2 separate regions of the Homo sapiens genome follow, and region 2 is linked to region 1. Evidence: promoter capture Hi-C in 16 types of primary human blood cells and fetal thymus (Javierre and others, 2016). All regions are on one chromosome and are shown on one strand. Each heading gives the region's core, a stretch centred on a gene start or on the middle of the fragment in contact. The rest is flanking DNA. Distances are from core to core; before and after follow the strand shown. Region 1 holds the start of CCDC85A (coiled-coil domain containing 85A). Region 2 has its middle 500 kb from the start of CCDC85A.

Region 1 (5,335 bases), core at 1,677-4,176:
GGAAGTAGACTGGCAAGTCTTTTAATGCCAGGTCATGAATCTAGATCACAAGGAGACTTTCTTACTTGGGTGTACGGGCCTTTAGCTGACCTAATAGCTACTTCTCTACATGAAGCTACTGGAATGAAGCCCAGGCACTCTACCAACCCACTCTACCATTCCCCTCCCCTACCCACACACAGACATCACACACAGTCAATCCACATAACCTAAAGGAACTTTCAAGTGTTTCTGAGCTATTATTTTGATGCTCCATACTATTAAAACATTTAATAATAACTCTTCCAACTCTTCTAAATCACACTATTGTTCAGACCATGGAAGAAACTCAAATTAGAGGATGACAAACTAATGCCCCCTTGTCCAGCTCTGCCTAAGAAACCAAAATCTTGGGGACACACAGCCATAGATTTGTAAGTCCTTTCCTGATGACAGTAACTACCATTTTATAGTCAAGTATTAAACCTTCCCCTACATAATCATAACTTATTGCCATAACACCCTCAGAAAGTTATTATCATTGCATTGTATTGGTGAATAAAAGGAGGATCTGAGAAAGTAATTACCCAAGCTCACCCTCCTGGCAAATGAGGTTTCTAGAATTCAAACCCACCTCTGAGATCATCTTCCTACTACACTAGCCTGCCTCTATTCCCCAAAGAGACTGGCACTTAATAAACACTCTGTTAGTAATGAATTCAACCACAGGAGAGAGTAAGCCTTGGCATTTTTCTGACTGGAGGAATCTTCCTACCTGCACCCACTCTAGGGACTATATGACAATGACTTTCGGCCTCGGGAGACGGCCATCTCCACCTGAACTGGGCCCAGCACATAGGTGAGCCTTGAGCATTCCACTCTTCCCACTCTTTCTTGCCCCAGAATCCCAGAGCTGGAGCACTGAGGCAATTCCGGAACAGCATCTACTGTCTGATATGTGGGGATAGGAGTGGAAAGGGGAAAAGAACAGCTTGTGCCTTCGGGAATTTGCTCCCTGAAGTCCCTGCAGTGATTTCGTTTGTGTCTGGCTTCCTACAAACAAAGCAGAACAATGAGAGGAAGGAATACCAGGAGGCACCAGCGCTAGCTGGAAGGAGAGGAAGTTTGTGGTGCTCGCCAGCAGGGCGGTTCCCGGCCACTAGTGTACTGCAGCTGGGCAGGCACACTCCTCGCAGACCCGGCGCTCTCCAAGGAGAAAAGAAAGTTAGTGGGCTTGGGGTACGTTTCCCTTCTTTTCCTAGAAGAGGGTGGCAGGGGGGCTGGCTCAGAAAGAAACCATCACTGACCAACACTTGGGGTACTCTGTCAAAATGCTGCTCCTTCCATACTGAGTCTCTTTGCTCCTCCTCTTTCCCCCAGTCAACCTGGGGTTAAGTGGGAAGGGGAGTAAGGCAACTCCAGGGGATGCCTTCCAAACTCCGGGAGAGGGAAAGCACAGGAATTGGGAGAAGACGTGAAGGCAGAGCTTGAACTCCTATGTACCCGGTGACACAAGACTGCTCTGAGGGTGGCGCCCGCTGCTTCTCCCGGGCGCCCCGCCAGCCGCTCTCCCTGGCAGTGGCGCCCTTTCCTCGCCCTCTGCCCGCCCAAGAGCTGCTGGCCCAGAGCAGCCGCATTCCCGACCCTCCAAGGCGAAGATCCCCTGGATTCACCCCCTCACTGGCCTTTCCGCCTAACTGACTGAAACCCGGCTCCCCAGGCACAGATTTTCCAGCCTCCCTAAGAAATGAAAGGTTCGCGTGCCCTTCACCTCCCTCCCTGCTTTCCAGCGTCCTCAGCGCCTCCCCGAACAGCCAGACAGTGGAGCGCCCCGTGTTGGGGAGAGGAGGGGAGCAGACGCCTCCGAAGTTTGGAAAAGTTACACAGGGGCTGGGGACTGGGGGTAGGGGGTGCCGACCGGGAGAAGGGGAGGGTCACCTGTTGAGGGAGGGAGGGAAAGTTTGCCTGGCCCCGCCTCCTCCTCGGGGCACCCCGCTCCCAGCCGCGCCGCGCCTCCCCACCTGGCCCGCGCTCACCTTGAGGCCGCGGATCTCGCCGAGGTGCAGCTGCAGGCGGCGGTTCACCTCGCGGATGAGGTTGCTGTGGTCCAGCATCGCGCTCACCTTCTCCGCCTCGGCGCGCCGCAGGCTGCGGATCAGCTCCTCCTTGCTCCACTGCAGCAGCTCCTCGTCCGACACTTTGGACAGGTCCTCCACCGGCGCGGGCGGGGCCGCGGACGAGCCGGCCGGGGCTGGGGAACAACTTTCCGCCGCCGCCGCAGCCGCCGCCGCGCCTCCGGCCGCCTTCGACATGGTATCCGCGGGGTGGCAGGTGCAAGTGGGTGGAAGAGGCGAGGCGACTCCCGAAGGCGCGGGCGCGGCGAGGCCGCCTCCGCCCACACCCCTGTGCGCTCCGGCGAGTCAGCGGCACCGCCCAGGGGCCGCTGGGTTGGGGCGGCGGGGGTCGCGCTGGGTGGCCATCCTACCTCGCCATCCCCGCGCGCGCGCCCGCGCTCCCCCAGGGCCCGGCAGCCAGCCGCTTGCTGCTGCCGAGGCCCGTCCCAACTCCGCGCAAGTCCATGGTGAGGGGCACTGGGGAGCCCGGGGCTGCCGCGGGAAATCCTCGGGGACAGCGGGGGAGCTGCACCGCCGTTCCCCTGCCCTCTCCTCCGCCCTAAGCCGAGACTGTCGCCCCCCGCACTCTCTGCCCTGCACACAGGCGTGCACGCACACGCACTTTCCTCCCCCTTGCCCAGCTGCAGCCCCCGGCTTCTCCCCTCTCCTAGCTTGGAGGGCGCGCCGGGCACCGCGGCGCCTCCCCGGCTGCTCTAGCGACGCCGCCGCGGCTGCCCGAAGGCTGCTGCGCTCCTCCTGCCGCCTTCGCTGCGCCCGCGGCCGCTCCTAGGCTGCTCCGGAAAGCCTTCGATTTGCAGAGCGGAGTCGAGAAGGGGTGGAGGGTGGGGGACCGGCTGGAGGAGGAGCCTGGAGCTGGGGCCACCCGTAACCCGCAGCAGCTCCCGCATGGGCTGGACGCAGCTGCCACTCGACCGCTGCCCGGGCCCTCGAGGTGCGCTCCCGGCTGTCCTGCCCGGGAGGGCTGGGGGCGCGGCTCTTTCTGCGCCCGGGCGGGTGGGGCTGGAATGGGGAGAAGGTGAGGAGCTGTGGCCGCCCGGTCTTTGGGAGGCTCGCGCGCGCCACCGTGTGGCGGAAGAAGCTCCCTCCTCTGCCCTCTGCACACCGGCCTTGTCACCAGGCAGGGGAAACAGCTGCTGACCCAAATGCGAGGTGCTTCGTATTTGGAGGGATCGGGGATCAGGAAAGATGGGGTAGCAGGACCTGAGGGATAACCAGTTATTTGCACTTTGGAGAATGGGAGGAGAGGCAAATGGCAAAAACGGGGGTTGGGGAAAGGGGCAGCTTAAGAAAATCCAAATGGTCTGAAAAGGGCGAAAAGAGGCGTCAGGGCACTGCTCTTATGGGGCTACCCATCCCCACCCCCCACTCTCGCCCCACCCCTAGGCCTTTGTGTTTTCTAAAAATCCACTACTCTATGAAGAAGCTTCGGGAGAAGGTACTGGATCTTTTAAATTTTTATTTGAAAAATATCAAAGCCTTTAGGCGAAAATAAAATACCTTCATCTCCTGCTTCCTGAAACCTGGATTTTAAGGTCAGCACAGTCACCTCCCCTCGGAGCAAAGCAAGCCCCCTCAGGCAAGCTGAAATGCCAGCCAAGGAGATTTCCATTTTCTTCTATGCCGCAGGCTGCCAGGCGTTTACTGGGTCGGCTTTTTTATGATGGTTATTTCTGGAAGGAGGAAGTCTGAGTCCCTGGCTTCTATCTTTGGGCTATCCTCTTGTAAAGTTGGGTGGAATCGTCTCTGGGCTGAAAACATGCTTTTGCCTAAAGAGGTGGATGCCCTTGACCACCGCATGTTATTTCCAGTGGGGTACAGGGCCGGAAAATGGCAAGGATCTACCCCCACCGGGTTTCAGTTAACCCGGGTGCAGAGGGAATAATCTCTATCTGGTAGGATGATAATCAAAATCAGTCCCTTCACCCGCCGGTCAGTGCGTGTCCCCTATTGGGGACACTGAGACCTGGCTCCCGGGAGAGGCAAGGAAATGTGGTACTGCTTACGGTGACCAAATGGCCTTAACATTCCCCTCAGCTTAACTAAACTTTAGACAGGTTTCTTCCTAACTGTAGGCCCCAGACCTTCCTTTTCTCAGAGCATTTACTTTAGCCAACTTCCATTGGTGAATGTTTCCTCTGACCCTTTGACATGTAAATCTCTCCGCCTCTTGCTGGGTTTTACAGCCTGGGGATCTTTCTCAGGGATCTGTGAGGCATCCCTTTGAAATGTAATCATCAAGGAAAAAAGGGTCCCTATCTCCTAGTGTTTGTGGAGAGGAGGAGCCTAACTTTAATAAGTTCCAATTAGGAAACACAAATGGCCTCATTACACTGACCAACTTCCCATCCTAATCTCCTCCACTAGTCTTCTACTAGTTCCCCTCTCCCTCCCTCTCTCTCTTCCCTATTGCAATAGCCTTGAATAATTCCCCCTTGTCTGTTTAACTATATCGGATGCAATTTTTCTTTGACACCTCCAAGCCGCTCTCACGCCCACAGAAGGCTCTGCTCAACACAGTTCCTAAGACCAGTTTTGTCACAGAAAGGGAAAGTGAAGGTCAGAAAAAGATAAGTCCTATCTCTGTTACTTGTTAGTTCTTGTCCTTGAACAAACCATCCGACCTTACTGGCCCTCGGGCAGCTAATGATATGGTATACAAGAAGCGCTTGATCGAGCCACCCTACAGAAATGCAACCTTACTATTACTGATATTACATATTACATTGGGCAGCCTCTTGTCTAGAAATAGGAACCAGGACTTCTGTTTATTCCTCCATCACGGGTTCTTCAAGAGTCGTATTCTAAAATGAAACAGCCAGCCCCCTTCTCTGCTAACTCCCTCTGATCAGTTAACACCAAATAGATATGAGAAATCAGAGAGATGGCTGAGAGGAAAAATTAGACTTGTGTTGGGAAGACAAGGAAGAAGGAAAGCCAAAAAAAAAAAAAAAGTCTCCACAAATTATATACACTAGCAGTGGATTACAGTTGAGCTAGATCACCTTAAGGTTTTCATGTTTCTAATTTTGGTCATTGATTCAGAATAATAATTATCTGCATGAATGAATAATGTTGCTTCATGTTGCTAAGGTCATGTATGGTGTCAGGAGCTTCATTTGACTGCTAAAAACAGAAACTCAAAAAACAGTCACTTTAAAAAAGTCATTTATTTTTTCTCACCTACCTGGTATTCTAAAGAGAGGCAGCTGAGGGCTGGTATG
Region 2 (5,335 bases), core at 1,020-3,519, 500 kb before region 1:
AAATCGTCCCAGGGCATAAAATAACATTGTGGAGAGCTATGGTTTGAAACCAGGTCTTTCTTATGACTTATGACAGTAATTCATTCCAGCACAGGCCACTGTTTAATATAGCATTTACTAACAAAGCATATATTAAATGTATTTTGGTATAATTTCATGATGATCTTGCAAATCTTTTATATTTTTAAATGTTCCATTTACACATTCCCTGAATAAAATATTCTCTAAAATGCAGTCTTATCATTGTTTCCACAGGACCTAAAGAGGCTTCTTGTCTATCAAGACATCATGATAAATCTGAAGAGCTAGAAAGATGACTTTTTATAATTAATTGCAAGACAGGAAAGAGAGGAAGGAGGTAGTATTATACTCCAACAAATACTTTATTTTTATATTAAAACACCAATACAGTTTTTCCCATCTGGTATTTAATTGAATATTAATTCCACATTATATACGAAATATGTGCAGAAAAGAGTTCTATGTGAAATAAACTTGTGAAATTCTGGATTTAGCAAAGATAAAATTAATTTCACAAAGAATTTCTCCTAACTTGTAATACACTGAAGTATGCATTGTAAATTTGCAAGGAGTGGAGTATCATATGGAATTTCCAAAATGTCTGTGATCATGAAACCCTTTCACAAAGTATCCTATGTGACTTATGCTAACGGAATGCACTTTTTCAGTGAATAGGAATATTAACAGCTGTCAGATTCAATTTTACAACTAGTTTCCTTGGCACTCAACAAGACTTAGCTGCAAAAGCCCTGGAATGACACAAAGGACTTATCACAAAGTTCTATGATAAACATGTACTGATGATGTCACATACATTATAAAAGCATAAGGTCCTTGAACAGAGGGCATATCTATAGGAAGAGTTAAATCAAAACTATGCTCATATTAAGCTATGACTCCTTTGAACTATTTGAACCATTTTGTGCTGGATCTGCTGCACACTAATCATCTCAGGGCAGTAGGACTATTTTATGGCCTAATGCAAATATTTTTTTTAAAATCTAACCCTGTGATGTAGTATTACGCCAGGTACTTTCAGCAAACAGAGTGGAACCTAACAAAGTGAATGGAAAGAATATTAAGAAAATGCGAATTCTAAATTTGGAACTAAAATTATCTTTCCCAATCACTCAAAAGACTCTTTACTATTCTTCACTTGTCATTTGCCAATGCAGATTCCAAGTTCCTTAGGAAATTTTTAGAGAATTTAGGATGGTCTTATTTTATGTTCCATATCCCCATGTTCCTTTTTTCTACCTCGTGACCAACTCCAACATTTCTGTTAATACAACAGACTAGATGAGATTAAGCTTTCCAGACTATCTTTCAGGTATTCAAGTTAATGGTATTTTTTTAACATTTCCTATTTATTCACCCTACTTTAGAGTCTCTACAGAAAGCATATTTTTTAATCTACAAAGCATTCAAGAGTAAAGACTCTAGAGTCAGAAGACAGATTTAATTCCGATTCTGTCCCTAACTAACTGTTGTAAAACTTGGAAAAGTTCCTCTGATATTTCCTTTTACTTGCAATAGCTTATGTGACTCTAATTTATAGATTATTGCAAAGGTTAAAGGTAAATCTTACAAAGCACAGTGCCCTGCAAATCTAAATTATCAATAAACTCTATCCATTATGATATTGATGATGATGTGACCAAATTAAATCAATAGTTTTTAAAGAAACATTGGATCAGTATCAGTGATTTGCAACTATTAACATGTATTTTAAAATTCCCTGGTGTGCTTGTACCTAGGCCTACAACTGCATGAAGCCTGATTCAGTGGAGAGGAGTGGTAATTCTTCCAGGCAGCCCTCAGATAATGATTTAAGAAATACTGAACCAGTGGACTCCAAATTCCATTGCACGCCCATCACATTATGATTTTGATGTTCTCTTTACCCTCCCATATGTTTGTGTAACCTTCTCCTTTACTTGTCTTGTCTTTCTCTCTGGCCTGGCAGACAGGAGGCTTGCAGTTTTGAAGGGGGTGGTAAGTGGACCAGTCAGGACAGCCCTAATGTCTGCCCTGGGAGCTACAGGTTATCAGAACACCCCTTGACTCCCTCAGTCTTTAGCAGTTATTTCATCTTTTCGATTTTCAGAGTGTCTCTGGTTACTTGCTAAAAAATACATTCCTTTGAGTTTGACTTATAAATGGAGTACAAGAAAAAGTGAGCAAAAACCACTTTCCAATTGTAACAAAGCACTTGCCACAAATGTGACAGAAGCAAACCAAAACCTGAACTGGGTTAAAACAGGAGCTTTCACATTAATTATTCAAAAGGCAAAAATTAAATTATCTATACACACACACACACACAAAAGAGTTTATTTCTGTATATGAGGTAAAACCCTGATTGACGGCTTTGCCTATAATGTTTACAGAATTGCTTCAATTCCTCAATTTCGCTTAAGGTAATGATGTATCAGTCAAAGAAAACAGCACTTCACAAATTTTCCTGGAAAGTGAAAGCCCAGGTTTTTTTTTCATTTTGCAAATAAACTCTTATCATAAATTTTCCTTCTTTTGACCAACTATTTTTTCTGTCAACTGCCTTTGAATTTTTATGAACTCATTTAGCAGCAACTATTCTCCCCGCTATGTATTGAGAGGAGGTAAAATGCAGACACTGACAAAATGGCTGCCTCAGGCAGAGGCCAGTACACGGAGAACAAGACTTGGTTGTGGTTGCCTCCTGTGATTTGTTCTGTGAATCTCAAGTTGGAGTCCAACTGTGAAAATAGTGACAGAAACTCTGACCTTGCTTTTAAAAGCTACAAGGCAAATAGCCCCTCAGACCGGGGTAGTCACATGGCTTTTTCCGACTGTCTCATGTCAGTGCTCCACCCTGGAGGATGTTAGAGCCCAGTATGGGGAAGAGGCCTTCACTTTGCCAAGGAGAAAAACCAAAGCCTTAAAAAAAAGCCATCTTTGAAAAATAGACCTTTGACGGATGAATTGTAATATCTTAATATTAGCATTTGTTATTATAAGTTATGATTTGTAATGCTTTGTCTCAGGTTCTGCATTGAGTAGTAAATGCCCCTGCTTTCCAAGGGATAGAGTGCCTCATAAAAGAAAACACTAATTGAGCAGGTCTTCAGGACCCAATTATCCTACTGATAATTCCAAGGGGATGAACTATCATCATAGTACAAACATGGAATATAGGAAGCTTATCAAAATATTGTTTATATGACAGAAATTATTTCTGATCAAAGCCAGCTCCCAGAATAGAGTCAAATCACACAGCTATTCCTATAGACTATGTAAAGTAGTCCGGCAATGAGAGCTACAGGGTCTTTGTACCAATATTAGCTCAAATTGGGCCCATGTTTGACTCTAAAAACCAGTTGCAGCTATACATTAAGAATTTCAGTATTAATGGTGTTTTTTCCTAAATAAAGCAGCTGTCAAGCTCTGCCCCATTGAATACATATACATCAAAGAAAGCAAGTTTTCTGGTAGAATGGTTGCTTTCTTCAATAGATCATCATTGTGTGACAAAACAATGTTTCCCTATTCACTTACCAAAATGAATTCACATGCTAATTTCAAATCTGTCAGAGCTCAGTGTTCACCACTGAGGTGTCAAATAAAAGTGATTTGTCAGTAGAGATCTTTTCTTTCTAAGTTTATTACATTTCAGGTGCATACTTTCTGTACTCCCTCACAACATCCTAGATTGTCCGTATGACTCAAATCAAAAGTTCTGTATCTCCATCAAGCAAGAAAGTGAATTTCATGGTTATTACAAAGCCAATTTTAATTAATACTTCCTGAAATGGGCTTCCTTTTTCTTTTACTTTTATGTGTGCTAAATATTTTTCAGACAACTCCAGTTTTAAACAACATACAGAACCTATGTTTATTTATAAGAAAATTAAGAAAATATCTATTCTTTTTTTATCATTAAAGAAAGAATTTTTTATTAGTATAGCCTAAGTGTACAGTGTTTTTTTTTTCTTTTTTTTTTTTATTATACTTTAAGTTTTAGGGTACATGTGCACATTGTGCAGGTTAGTTACATATGTATACATGTGCCATGCTGGTGCGCTGCACCCACTAACGCGTCATCTAGCATTAGGTATATCTCCCAATGCTATCCCTCCCCCCTCCCCCCACCCCACCACAGTCCCCAGAGTGTGATGTTCCCCTTCCTGTGTCCATGTGATCTCATTGTTCAATTCCCACCTATGAGTGAGAATATGCGGTGTTTGGTTTTTTGTTCTTGCGATAGTTTACTGAGAATGATGGTTTCCAATTTCATCCATGTCCCTACAAAGGACATGAACTCATCATTTTTTATGGCTGCATAGTATTCCATGGTGTATATGTGCCACATTTTCTTAATCCAGTCTATCATTGTTGGACATTTGGGTTGGTTCCAAGTCTTTGCTATTGTGAATAATGCCGCAATAAACATACATGTGCATGTGTCTTTATAGCAGCATGATTTATAGTCCTTTGGGTATATACCCAGTAATGGGATGGCTGGGTGAAATGGTATTTCTAGTTCTAGATCCCTGAGGAATCGCCACACTGACTTCCACAATGGTTGAACTAGTTTACAGTCCCACCAACAGTGTAAAAGTGTTCCTATTTCTCCACATCCTCTCCAGCACCTGTTGTTTCCTGACTTTTTAATGATTGCCATTCTAACTGGTGTGAGATGATATCTCATAGTGGTTTTGATTTGCATTTCTCTGATGGCCAGTGATGATGAGCATTTTTTCATGTGTTTTTTGGCTGCATAAATGTCTTCTTTTGAGAAGTGTCTGTTCATGTCCTTCGCCCACTTTTTGATGGGGTTGTTTGTTTTTTTCTTGTAAATTTGTTTGAGTTCATTGTAGATTCTGGATATTAGCCCTTTGTCAGATGAGTAGATCAACTGGAAGAAAGGGTATCAGCAATGGAAGATGAAATGAATGAAATGAAGCGAGAAGGGAAGTTTAGAGAAAAAAGAATAAAAAGAAATGAGCAAAGCCTCCAAGAAATATGGGACTATGTGAAAAGACCAAATCTACATCTGATTGGTGTACCTGAAAGTGATGTGGAGAATGGAACCAAGTTGGAAAACACTCTGCAGGATATTATCCAGGAGAACTTCCCCAATCTAGCAAGGCAGGCCAACGTTCAGATTCAGGAAATACAGAGAACGCCACAAAGATACTCCTCGAGAAGAGCAACTCCAAGACACATAATTGTCAGATTCACCAAAGTTGAAATGAAGGAAAAAATGTTAAGGGCAGCCAGAGAGAAAGGTCAGGTTACCCTCAAAGGGAAGCCCATCAGACTAACAGCAGAT

The links. The method cuts DNA at HindIII sites, captures the fragments that hold promoters and counts their contacts. A CHiCAGO score of 5 or more calls a contact.
Region 2: a contact is called between a fragment that was not itself captured here and the fragment with the promoter of CCDC85A in region 1, in 1 of 17 cell types (endothelial precursors). The highest score is 5.2, in endothelial precursors.

What each region holds. Positions count from the first base shown.
Region 1 is chr2:56,181,581-56,186,915 of GRCh38, reverse strand. It overlaps CCDC85A (coiled-coil domain containing 85A), which reads right to left and starts at 2,926. Exons shown (of 6, transcript NM_001080433.2): 1 at 2,016-2,926. The coding sequence starts at 2,291. LOC100129434 (a long non-coding RNA gene) reads left to right here and starts at 1,146. Exons shown (of 3, transcript NR_125368.1): 1 at 1,146-1,218. RefSeq lists a silencer at 2,927-3,256. The HindIII fragment of the contact is 6,654 bases long and covers 1-3,539 here.
Region 2 is chr2:56,682,734-56,688,068 of GRCh38, reverse strand. No RefSeq gene overlaps it. Among named protein-coding and RNA genes, the nearest start is that of CCDC85A, 500 kb to the right of the region's middle. The HindIII fragment of the contact is 1,871 bases long and covers 1,334-3,204 here.